Regions from separate parts of the Homo sapiens genome. Here region 2 is linked to region 1. The links are contacts of gene promoters, found by promoter capture Hi-C in blood cells and fetal thymus (Javierre and others, 2016). All regions are on one chromosome and are shown on one strand. Each heading gives the region's core, a stretch centred on a gene start or on the middle of the fragment in contact. The rest is flanking DNA. Distances are from core to core; before and after follow the strand shown. Region 1 holds the start of OTOL1 (otolin 1). Region 2 has its middle 190 kb from the start of LINC01192.

Evidence for each region. The method cuts DNA at HindIII sites, captures the fragments that hold promoters and counts their contacts. A CHiCAGO score of 5 or more calls a contact.
Region 2: a fragment that was not itself captured here is called in contact with the fragment with the promoter of OTOL1 in region 1 in 2 of 17 cell types (M0 macrophages and M2 macrophages); the score reaches 6.1 in M0 macrophages.

The regions. Positions count from the first base shown.
Region 1 is chr3:161,494,511-161,499,789 of GRCh38, forward strand. OTOL1 (otolin 1) reads left to right here and starts at 2,298. Exons shown (of 4, transcript NM_001080440.1): 1 at 2,298-2,661; 2 at 4,661-4,750. The coding sequence starts at 2,298. The HindIII fragment of the contact is 10,143 bases long and covers 1-3,197 here.
Region 2 is chr3:163,488,868-163,494,146 of GRCh38, forward strand. No RefSeq gene overlaps it. Among named protein-coding and RNA genes, the nearest start is that of LINC01192, 190 kb to the left of the region's middle. The HindIII fragment of the contact is 358 bases long and covers 2,963-3,320 here.

The DNA.
Region 1 (5,279 bases), core at 1,048-3,547:
TTGTTTTTTTGCTTGTTGAACTGTTTAAGTTCCTTATAGATTGACTATTAGATATTTTCAGATGACAATTTGAGAATATTTTCTTCCATTTGGTAGGTTGTCTCTTTACTCTGTTGATTGTTTCTTTTGCTGTGCTGAAGCTCCTTGGTTTAATTAGGTCCCACTTGTCAATTTTTCTTTTTGTTGCAATTGCTTTTGAGGGCTTAGTCATAATTTTTTTGGCCAAGGCTGATGTCCAGAATGGTATTTTCTAGGCTTTTTTTTTCTTGGATTCTTATAGTTTGAGGTCTTACATTTAAATCTGTAATCCATCTTGAGTTAATTTTTGCATAGAGTGAAAGGTAGGGGTCCAGTTTCATTCTTCTTCATATGGCTAGCCAGCTATCACAGGACAATTTACTGAATAGGGAGTCCTTTCTGCATCGCTTATTTTTGTTGACTTTATCAAAGATCAGATGGTCATAGTTGTGTGGCTTTATTTCTAGATACTCTATCCTGTTCCACTGGTCTATGTGTCTGTTTTTGTACCAGTACCTTGCTGTTTTGGTTATCGTAGCCTTACAGTATAGTTTGAAATCAGGTAATGTGATGCCTTTGGCTTTGTTCTTTTTGCTTAGGATTGCTTTGGCTATTAGGGCTCTTTTTCTGGACCCACATGAATTTTAGAGTAGTTTTTTCTAGTCATATGAAAAGTGACATTGATAGATTGAAAGGAATAGTGTTGCATCTATCAATTGCTTTGGGCAGTATGACCACTTTAACAATATTGATTCTTCTAATCCATGAGCATGGAATGTTTTTTCATTTATTTGTGTCATGTCTGACTTCTTTCAGCAGTGTTTTGTAGTTCTTCTTGTAGTTCTCCAGATCTCTTACTTCCTTCCTTAGATGTACTCTTAGGTATTTTTTTTCGTGGCCATTGTAAATGGAATTACAATCTTGATTTGACTCCCAGCTTGAATGTTATTGGTGTACAGAAATTCTACTCGTTTTTGTACATTGACCTTCTTTCCTGAAACTTTGCTGAAATTATTTATCAGTCCCAGGAGAATTTTGGCAGTCTTTAGGGTTTTCTAGGTATAGAATAATATTTTCTGCAAAGAGAGAGAGTTTGACTTCTTCTTTTCCTATTTGAATGCCATTTATTTCTTTCTCTTGTCTGATTGCTCTGGCTAGCACTTTCAGTACTATGTTGAATAGGAGTGGTGAGAGAGAGCATCATCGTCATGTTCCAGTTCTCAAGGGGGAATGGAGAGCTGTTGTGAGACCTGATTGGATTGATTAATGTACGGCATCTACTCAGAGTAGGGACTGTATAAACAGTAGACCTTTTTAATCTCTTTATTTCCATTCTATTTACTCTCTTACTATTTATCTTAATTATGGCTGCCTTCTCCTATCAGGAAATGTGGATTTATAACCCTGGCTATCTGTTAGCACCCCTTAGACTACTGGGAGTTGATTTGGAATGGAATACTCTGAACTATCAAAATTTCACCTCATTAGAAACCTTACATCATATCACTTTGGACATTGCCAAAGCTCTTTTTAGAATAACCACATTTTGCCCCATTAAAATAATACAAGAATAAACATGAATTTCTAGAAAAACTCCCCAAATTACAAAGCAAAGAGGTGGAGAGTTAAATGCCATGTGAAGAATCTAAGAATGTAGCATATATTCAAATTTATTATTTTTAATTGTCTCTCTCTTCACTTATTAAAATAGATTTTAAAAAATTGCTCTCACAACAGGACCATTATCCTTAGTAGATTTAAGGACTATTTCACCATATTTTTTCTTGAAATAATTGAGTTTGCTGGAATAAACTACTCAGTTCAATATTTTTCATCTCCCTCTAATACAAATGTATTTGATTTCTATAAATCTGAGTGAAATCAGTGAGGAAATTATACACATTTATCTTCCACAGGGTATATGAGCTATTGAGTCATGTTGTATTTATTGTAGATCATGTTTGCTATTTGGCCAGATAGTTTGAATAGTTGGGAACAATATATAATACTAAGAAAATAACCAGAAAGATGAATGGAAGTAAAGTGTTCTTTATAATAAATAAGTACATAAAATATTCTGTAGTGATTCAAGTACACATTTACATGTAAAATATATTGAAAATATATCATTCTATATTATGCATATCATTCATTCTTATGATTCATATACATATATATTTCTTTTATATGAGTATATGTTTATATGACTTAGTCTTTTCATTTGGACCTCACATAATATGTATATATTTTCCTATTATATCTTTCTTCCAGCTTCAAATATGTGGATGTTTTCTTGGCTTTGTGCTATTTTAATTATTTTGGCTATTGCTGGTATGAACACAATAGCAAAGACCACACCACATACCAAATTTACGAAGAAATCTGAGGAAAGAGAGATGCCAAAGGGTCTAAAGCCATCCAGTGGCCCACCTCCAGAAGAAGAAGAAACCCTCTTCACAGAAATGGCTGAAATGGCAGAACCAATTACCAAACCCTCGGCCTTGGATTCTGTCTTTGGCACTGCCACTCTCTCTCCCTTTGAAAACTTCACTCTTGACCCAGCTGATTTCTTTTTGAATTGTTGTGATTGTTGTTCACCTGTACCCGGGCAGAAAGGAGAACCTGGAGAGACTGGACAGCCAGGTATTAGAAAATATAAGAAGTCATGTTTCTCACTTGTACATTGGTAGAGTTGAGAGGTAGGTTGTCGGGTGAAATTGCCCCAGGAGTTTCTACGTTGTTATGCAAATAGTAACAGGTCTAGGTGTCACATTGTTACAAATGTAAATGGGTGCTGTGTTGCCCAATGTGGTAATTAATAAATATTAAAATTAAAATTGAATAAGGTAAAAAATTCAGTTCATCAGTCACATTAGCCACAGTTCAAGTGCTCAACAGCCACTGTATTGGGCAGCACAGATAGCATTTCCATCATTGTAGACAATTCTACTGGACAGTGCTGGTGAGAGCAAAGTCAGGAATTACCAACTCCAGCATGGTGCTCTGGTTCTTCAAGATGCACAGGTTTATTACCAGTACAATTTTTTAAATTAGTGGCTGATTTAAAAAGGGTAAATGAAACTTCTGTTGCCTTGCAAGAATGTGTGCTGACTGATGGATTTTCTGAGTGCTATTTGTAGTTAGGATTAGAAATGGAATGGCTCTGAGGTGGAGAATAAAGCTTAGGATTCCATTTGCTTCTCATTGAATTTCTGAGGCAATACTGTGTCATTGCCCAATGATTTTCTCCATTGAACACCATGGTTATGTATTTCAAGATTTCAGATGTCTATAATATATACATAATGAATATAGTCTTGGCTTTATTCTAATACATTTCAGCTTTTACATGTCATCTAGAAGAGAATTCAAGGTAAAGTTAAGATCAGAATGTCAACTTAAAATTCACCATTGCCTGAGGAATTTAATGTTATAAACTAAGCAATTATACATCTTCACCAAGCTTTTCATTCATTTCATCCCTTTGTAGGGACCTTTTGGGAAATGCGGTTAGTATTTATGCAGAGCTGCATTAAGGAGTAAAGGAGATGGGCCGTAGCTTGGGTACCAAGATGTCAGGATTGCTAAAACATTACTGAAAATTTAATGAGACTGAGAAAATTATATTTACCAGAAGTCTTAGTATCCTATCTGGCTGGTAAGCTGCTTGGCGGTGAAAATCCCAAGGGCATGGTCAAGTAGACACAGCTGGTTGCTAAACTATTTGCTAAGGCTGTGAGTTCTGTAACATCAGGGCTTTTGTTTTACCCAGTGGTGGATTTAGCTGTGCTGTTCTCAGGGTTCATTCTCTCCTCTAAATATATATGACAAATAATTCCAAGGTGTGCCAAGTTATTACCCTGCCTGGGGAGCTCATATGTCTTAGTCTGACTGGTTCTGCCACAGAGCATAGTGCTTGAGAGCTTAGAATGCTGAGACTATCTTGGTCCTACTTAGGGAAGCTACTCTGCTTTGGGAAATCTTAATCTATTCTTTGGGTCTTAGCTTAATACCATTTTCTCAAGGAAGCCTCTGATCTCATCAGTTAAGTCCTCAATAAGACCTTCGTATTTTTCTTTATATCATTTACTACAATGTGACAATTTCTACGTATTTGTGTGGCTATTTGTTAAATGTTTATCTTTCATAGACTCTCAGCTTCATGAGAGTAGGGACTGCTGGAATGTTGATGGCTGCATTCCTAACACCTTGCAGGGTGCTTGGTGTATAGGATGCCTCAGAAATAGTTAATGAATGAATGAGTAAGTGAATAAAAGGGAAATCCAAAGGTGCTAGGTGTTGTTTTTACTTCCAATGTGAAAGTGTGGTCCATATGAGGTTAAGTGTCAGATTATCATTTTGTTCTTGTTTGATATAGTGCTGCTTCCCTGAATCATTTGATCACTGCCATGAATACAGTGACAAGTACTAATGGTCTCAATTTATCTATTCAGGTAGTACGAAATTGCAAATCAGACAAAAATATTGCCCTTAGGACTCTGTGTGGTTTATTCTTACTCAGATTTTACCATTAGGTCATTGATACTTATTGATTGCAGTAAAATGCTTTTTTTCTTTCCTGAACTAATGAACTTTAAAAGAGAAATTTTATATTCTGATGTATTTAAAATCCCATTTCTAGGTCCTAAAGGAGAGGCTGGAAATTTGGGGATCCCAGGGCCACCAGGAGTTGTTGGGCCCCAAGGCCCTAGAGGCTACAAAGGAGAGAAAGGTAGGTAATTCATTCATGTCAAAACTCAAGGGACATTCTGCATCATTTTTCAGGAGAGCAATTTGCTACTTAAAGACTAGATTCTTGCAGATGAGTCAATTTTAAAAATGTAAATACTTGATAAAGCACATTATATTTGATATAAATATGTTAACTTTATAAACAGCCAATTGAGAAATTTTAAACTTACCTGGGAACACTGCACACATGCATGCAGGCACACAGATTGTCACACAGCTTTTCCATCTCTCATTGGTCACCTAGCTGACCTAGTGACAAGCAGCCACAGAGTATAGTCTCTGGGGAAGGGTATAGAGATACCCTTCCTGTACATGCTCATGTTAGCCTACTTCCTTTGGATGCAAATAATTTTGTATTAGATGGAACTAACTAGAGCAGGCAATTCTCTGAATATTCAGTTTAGGTGGATAGTATGCCTGCTAAGAAGAATTTAATATATCCCTTGGCTCACTCTGAAATCAGAGGCAGTGTCAGTGGTGGGAAGACAACTTAATTAAAACAGAAGTAA
Region 2 (5,279 bases), core at 1,892-4,391, 2.0 Mb after region 1:
AATATGTGTGATAATGACAAACTAAATGGTCTGAACTTCACATATACCTATTCCTTAAAGGAAGTTTTTTAATATATTGATTTAAATAATCCAGGAATGCTTTTAGTTAGTGTCTAGATTTTATTAAAATAGATGAGATTTTTAAGAATATGGTAACACCTATTTGATATATATGCTGTCAGTGACAGGAGAAAAATTTTACCAAAAGGACAGTTTTCATGCCAGTATTCATGAGGAAGTTTGACCAGACAAAACAATGTAAGTGGCCTACAATATTCTGACACAACAACCCTAAACCTTAATCTCAAAATCACCAAATATTCCTAATTTACATTTTTCTTTTTTGTACTAACAGATAGCTTAAGATGGTAACTTCATTTTGTTACTAATAATTTATTGATTATATGGGAGAAATAAAATGTTTATCTTCACTAAGAAATCAGAAAATATACTTTGGTCATGGAGAAATATAGATATAGATAAAATGTTTATATTTTGTGAACATAATTCTTTTCAAAAATTGTCATATTTTACTTTCCTTTCACAACATCATAATTCCTCACGGAAAAAAAAATGTATATGGAATGAATAAACTACTTCACAGAATCTGTTGACAAATTTAGGTATATATTTGTGATATTAATTGAAAAAACATAGCAGTGCCTGCTGAAAGTGGTCACTATGTTTATTTTTTGTCAAAAATATTTGAGTTGCCTTAGAAAATTATAAAGTTCAAATACAAAAGATAAGAATTTTTTTCTTTTATTCCTAATATGGTTCAAGTTTATCCTTAAATAACAATAGAAAACTGAAAGCATTAATAGATGACAATAACCATATGTAATGGTGGAAAATCAGCAGGGAGAACTCTCATGCTCAATAATATATATGTCTGAATATCTATCTCTATATATTTTTAGAGACAGGGTCTCACTCTGTGACCCAGGCTAGTGTGTATTGACACAATCACACCTCACTATAAACTCGAAATCCAGGACCCAAAAGATCCTCTCACCTAAGCCTCCTAAAATCCTAAGATTACAAACATGAGCCACCATGTCCGGCCTAATGTATATTTTTGGGTTATATCTGAATTAGACCTATTTGGTTGTCATTGCAAGAGGGTTTCTTTTTTTACAAGATTATTTATCTGATGATGAATCAAAGTGTAATGTATGGTAATAAGTCATAGTGCTAGGACCTAAGTGATGCAGGATTTCTCTAGGGCCCTTTGCCGGAATCATGAAAGGAGCGCCCCAACTATTCAGCCCACTGTGCTCAACCCTTTGTGGGAGGGAGCACATGAGTGAGCAAGTGCAGAATCTGGCCAGCTGCTCCAGGCACTGACACAGGAGCACACTCCATGTGGGGCCTGTGGCCTGATCAGCCATGTGGTCTTGAGGAGAACATAGCAGTGCCCAGGTGAGGATGCCCACAACCCTGAAGCCCCAGAGCAGGTGTTACAGTGCTCCTTTAGTTCAAGCATCCACAGATGGCAGTGTATTATTAGCTGCTGAGTTGGCTCCTTGCCTCATCATGTGGGTTGGCTGCCCTCTGCTGGTGAGGGCAAAGGACTGGTGTGACAGCCTTTCTGGGTATCAGCACTTGGTGGGTTCTGAGCTCTTGCCCTGTGTCCAAGAAGAATGAGGTCACATGGATGATTAAAGGATGGTGAAGGTGGAGACTTTTATTGAGTGATGAAATGGCTCTCAGCAGAGAGGGGAGCTGGAGAGGGGACAGGAAGGGAAGGTCGTCTTTCCTAAAGTCAGGTTGTCTCTTCCCTGAAGTCAGGCCATCTCCTTCTCTACTAACTGAGTCTGGGATCTTTATAAGCACAGGATGGTGAGTGCATGGAGATTGGTTTGTGAGTATGCAGAAAAGGTTAAAGCAAAGACACTACTCAAAGATTGGCATGACAGTATAGAAAACCAATAAGAAAAGGGCAAGTATATTTAAAATAGGTGAAGGGTGGGGGTCAATCAGAAAAAAGCAATGCTAAACAGGAAGACAAGTTCTCAGTCCAGTCCAAGGATTTAACTTGTAGCTTGGTTTTCAGGCTTTAAAGTTTTTTGGTTTGGAGTTGGGGTTTCACCAAGTACCCGCACCTATCTGCCTGGGCATTTGGCTGCCTCCTGTCTCTATCATAAAGGCATATAAATATTAACACATACGTATTTGTTTTACGATTTAATTTTTAATTTTATGGGTATATTGTAGGTGTATATATTTATAAAGTACCTGATATGTTTTTATACAGGCACGCAATGCATAATAATCACATTATGGGAAATGGCATATACATTCCCTCAAGTATTTATCCTTTGTGCTACAAACAATCCAACTGTACTCTTTTAATTATTTTAAAAGGTACAATTAACACATTTTGATTATAGTCACCTTGTTGTGCTATCAAATACTAAGTCTCATTCATTCTTTCTAACTATTTTTTTTTGTACCTGTTAACCTTCCAAAACCCACCTTGCTCCAGTTAACCTTACCAGCATCTGGTAACCATCATTTTACTCTCTGTTTGTATGAGTTAAATTATTTTGATTTTTAGATTCCCCAAATAAGTGAGAACATGCAATATTTGTCTTTCTGTGTCTGGCTTATTTCACTTAACATAATGACTTCCAGTTCCACCCATGTTGTTGCAAACGACAGAATCTCATTTTTTATGGTTGAACAGTACTGTATTGTGTATATCTACCACACTTTCTTTCTTTATTCATCTGTTAGTGAACACTTAGGTTGCTTCCAAATTTTTGCAATTGTGAACAGTGCTGCAACAAACTTGGGAGTGCTAATATCTCTTCAAAATATTGATTTCCTTTCTTTTGAGTATATACCCAGGAGTGAAATTCCTGGATCATATCATTGCTTTATTTTTAGTTTTTTAACTAACTTCCAAACTGTTCTCCATAGTTGTTGTACTAATTTACACTCCCATCAGCACTGTACAAGCTTTCCTTTTTCTCCACATTCTCACCAGCATTTGTCATTGCCTGTCTTTTGTATAGAGTCCATTTTAACTGGGTGAGATGGTATCACATTGTAGTTTGATATACACTACTCTGATGATGAATGATGTTGAGCACATTTTCGTATGCCTGTTTCTCATTTGCACATCTTGTTTTGAGAAATGGCTATTCAAATATTTTACCATTTTTAAATTGGATTATGATATTTCTTTCCTATACAGCTTCTTGAGCTCCTCATATACTCTGGTTATTAATCCCTCATCAAATGGGTAGTTTGCAAATATTTCCTCCCATTCTGTGGGTTGTCTCTTCCCTTTATTGTTTCTTTTGCTGTGCAGAAGCTTTTTAACTTGATGTGATCCCATTTGTCAATTTTTACTTTGATTGCCTGTGCTTGTGTGGTATTACTCAGGAAATTTTTGCCAAGACTAAAATTTTTCCTGGAGAGTTTCTCCATTTTGTGTGTGTGTGTGTGTGTGTGTGTGTGTTGTAGTAGTTCCATAGTTTGAGGTCTTAGATTTAAGTCTTTAATCCATGCTGATTTGATTTTTCTATATGTACTTTCAGTCTTTTGCCTGTGGATATACAGTATTCTCAGCACCATTTATTGAAGAGACTGTCTTTTCACCAGTGTGTGTTCTTGGCACCTTTGTCAAAAATGAGTTCATTGTAGCGGTGTAACACATACCTGTTTCCCTTTGAATCCTCTCAGCAATGTGAGGATTGTAAAATAAACTCCCTCTTAATGTTTGGATAGCACTTACTTTGAGTCAACCCCCAACACACACACTTATTTACTTAAAACTCTTCTTCTCAGAATCATTCTTTCCAGAATTCCTTTTACTTAATATTTCCAAAAACTCAAGGGTTATTAATCTGTTCTGTTTAGTCACTGGCATGCCCATCACTCTGCCCATTTGCTTCAAGGGTACTGGTGCAGGTGTTCTTAGTTTCTAGCGATTCCTGAAATTCTGAAGAATACCACTTTCCCCAGTACTAAACTCACATGTGGATCCTTGATCTTTAGAGTGGAATTCTTCCAGGTTATATTTCTGTGGGCCTTTCAACCTATAATGACACAATTAGTCTGGCACAGAACACCTTGTGTAAAATCTGCACTTTGGCTGAAACTACACTTCCTTTTTAACAATAAAGACTGGCCTCTTATTGCATACCTTATCTCAATGTCTGTGTGGTTTTTTCTAGATGACAGATTGTTCAGGCCTACATCAGTCTATGAACATTTTCAGATTATTTGAACAGCAATGGTAAATGCATAACTTCCTTTTCTGTCAGATACTACTATGAACCATGCAATTAGATCAACAAGTGGTATAAAGTTAGTGGCAACAGAAATCGCTCACCTCTAACTGTACTCTGGTTCTCTTCATAATTTCCTCACATGGTAAATATCCCTAACTGCCTCCAATAGGTAAATGAATAAATAAACTCTTGTATACAGAAGAATGCTATTCTGCACTAAAAAAGAAATAGTTTTAGTACACCTAGTGTTTTGGATGTATCTCAAAGGAATTTTGCTGAGTAAAAGATGTCAGTCACAAAAGTTACATATCTTATTTTCCTATTATTCAACATTCTCAAAAAGCCAAAATTATAATGACAGAGATCAGAAAAGTGGTTGCAAGAGGACAGGGTTGAAGGGATAGCATAATAGAGTTATTAATGATGAATGAATTGTTCTGTGTCCTGATTGTGGCAGTTCTAATACCAAGGTATCTAAATGCTAAAATTCAGTAATAAATTCAACCAAAAAGAAACTTGAGTTTCATAATGTGAAAATATTTAGAAAAGAATAATGAAAGAGAACACAGTTGAGAGGAAACAAATAAACAAAAAAATCCCCCAGAAAGTTTAAAATAATAATAAAGTCATTAAAATTAATGACCTTACATTTATAGAAACAAGAGATGTGTCAGATTTATCATTAATCTGGGGATAATAAAGGCTGAATCTTATACAATTTTTTTGATTAGAAAGTGAAGAGAATTATTTGCATTCCTTTTAAAGCACTTGATAATACCTAGAAAAATTTCTTTGTGCCAATTTCTGATGGTAAATATTTTTATATGTGCTTCTGTAGATCATTCACTGATAACCACAGAAACACTGACAGTAAAAAGCAATTTTGGCCAAGCACAGTGGCTCACGCCTGTGATCCCAGCACTTTGGGAGGCTGAGGCGGGTGGATCATGAGGTCAGGCATTTGAGACCAGCCTGGCCAACATAGTGAAACTCTGTCTCTACTAAAAATACAAAAAATCAGCTGGGCATGGTGAT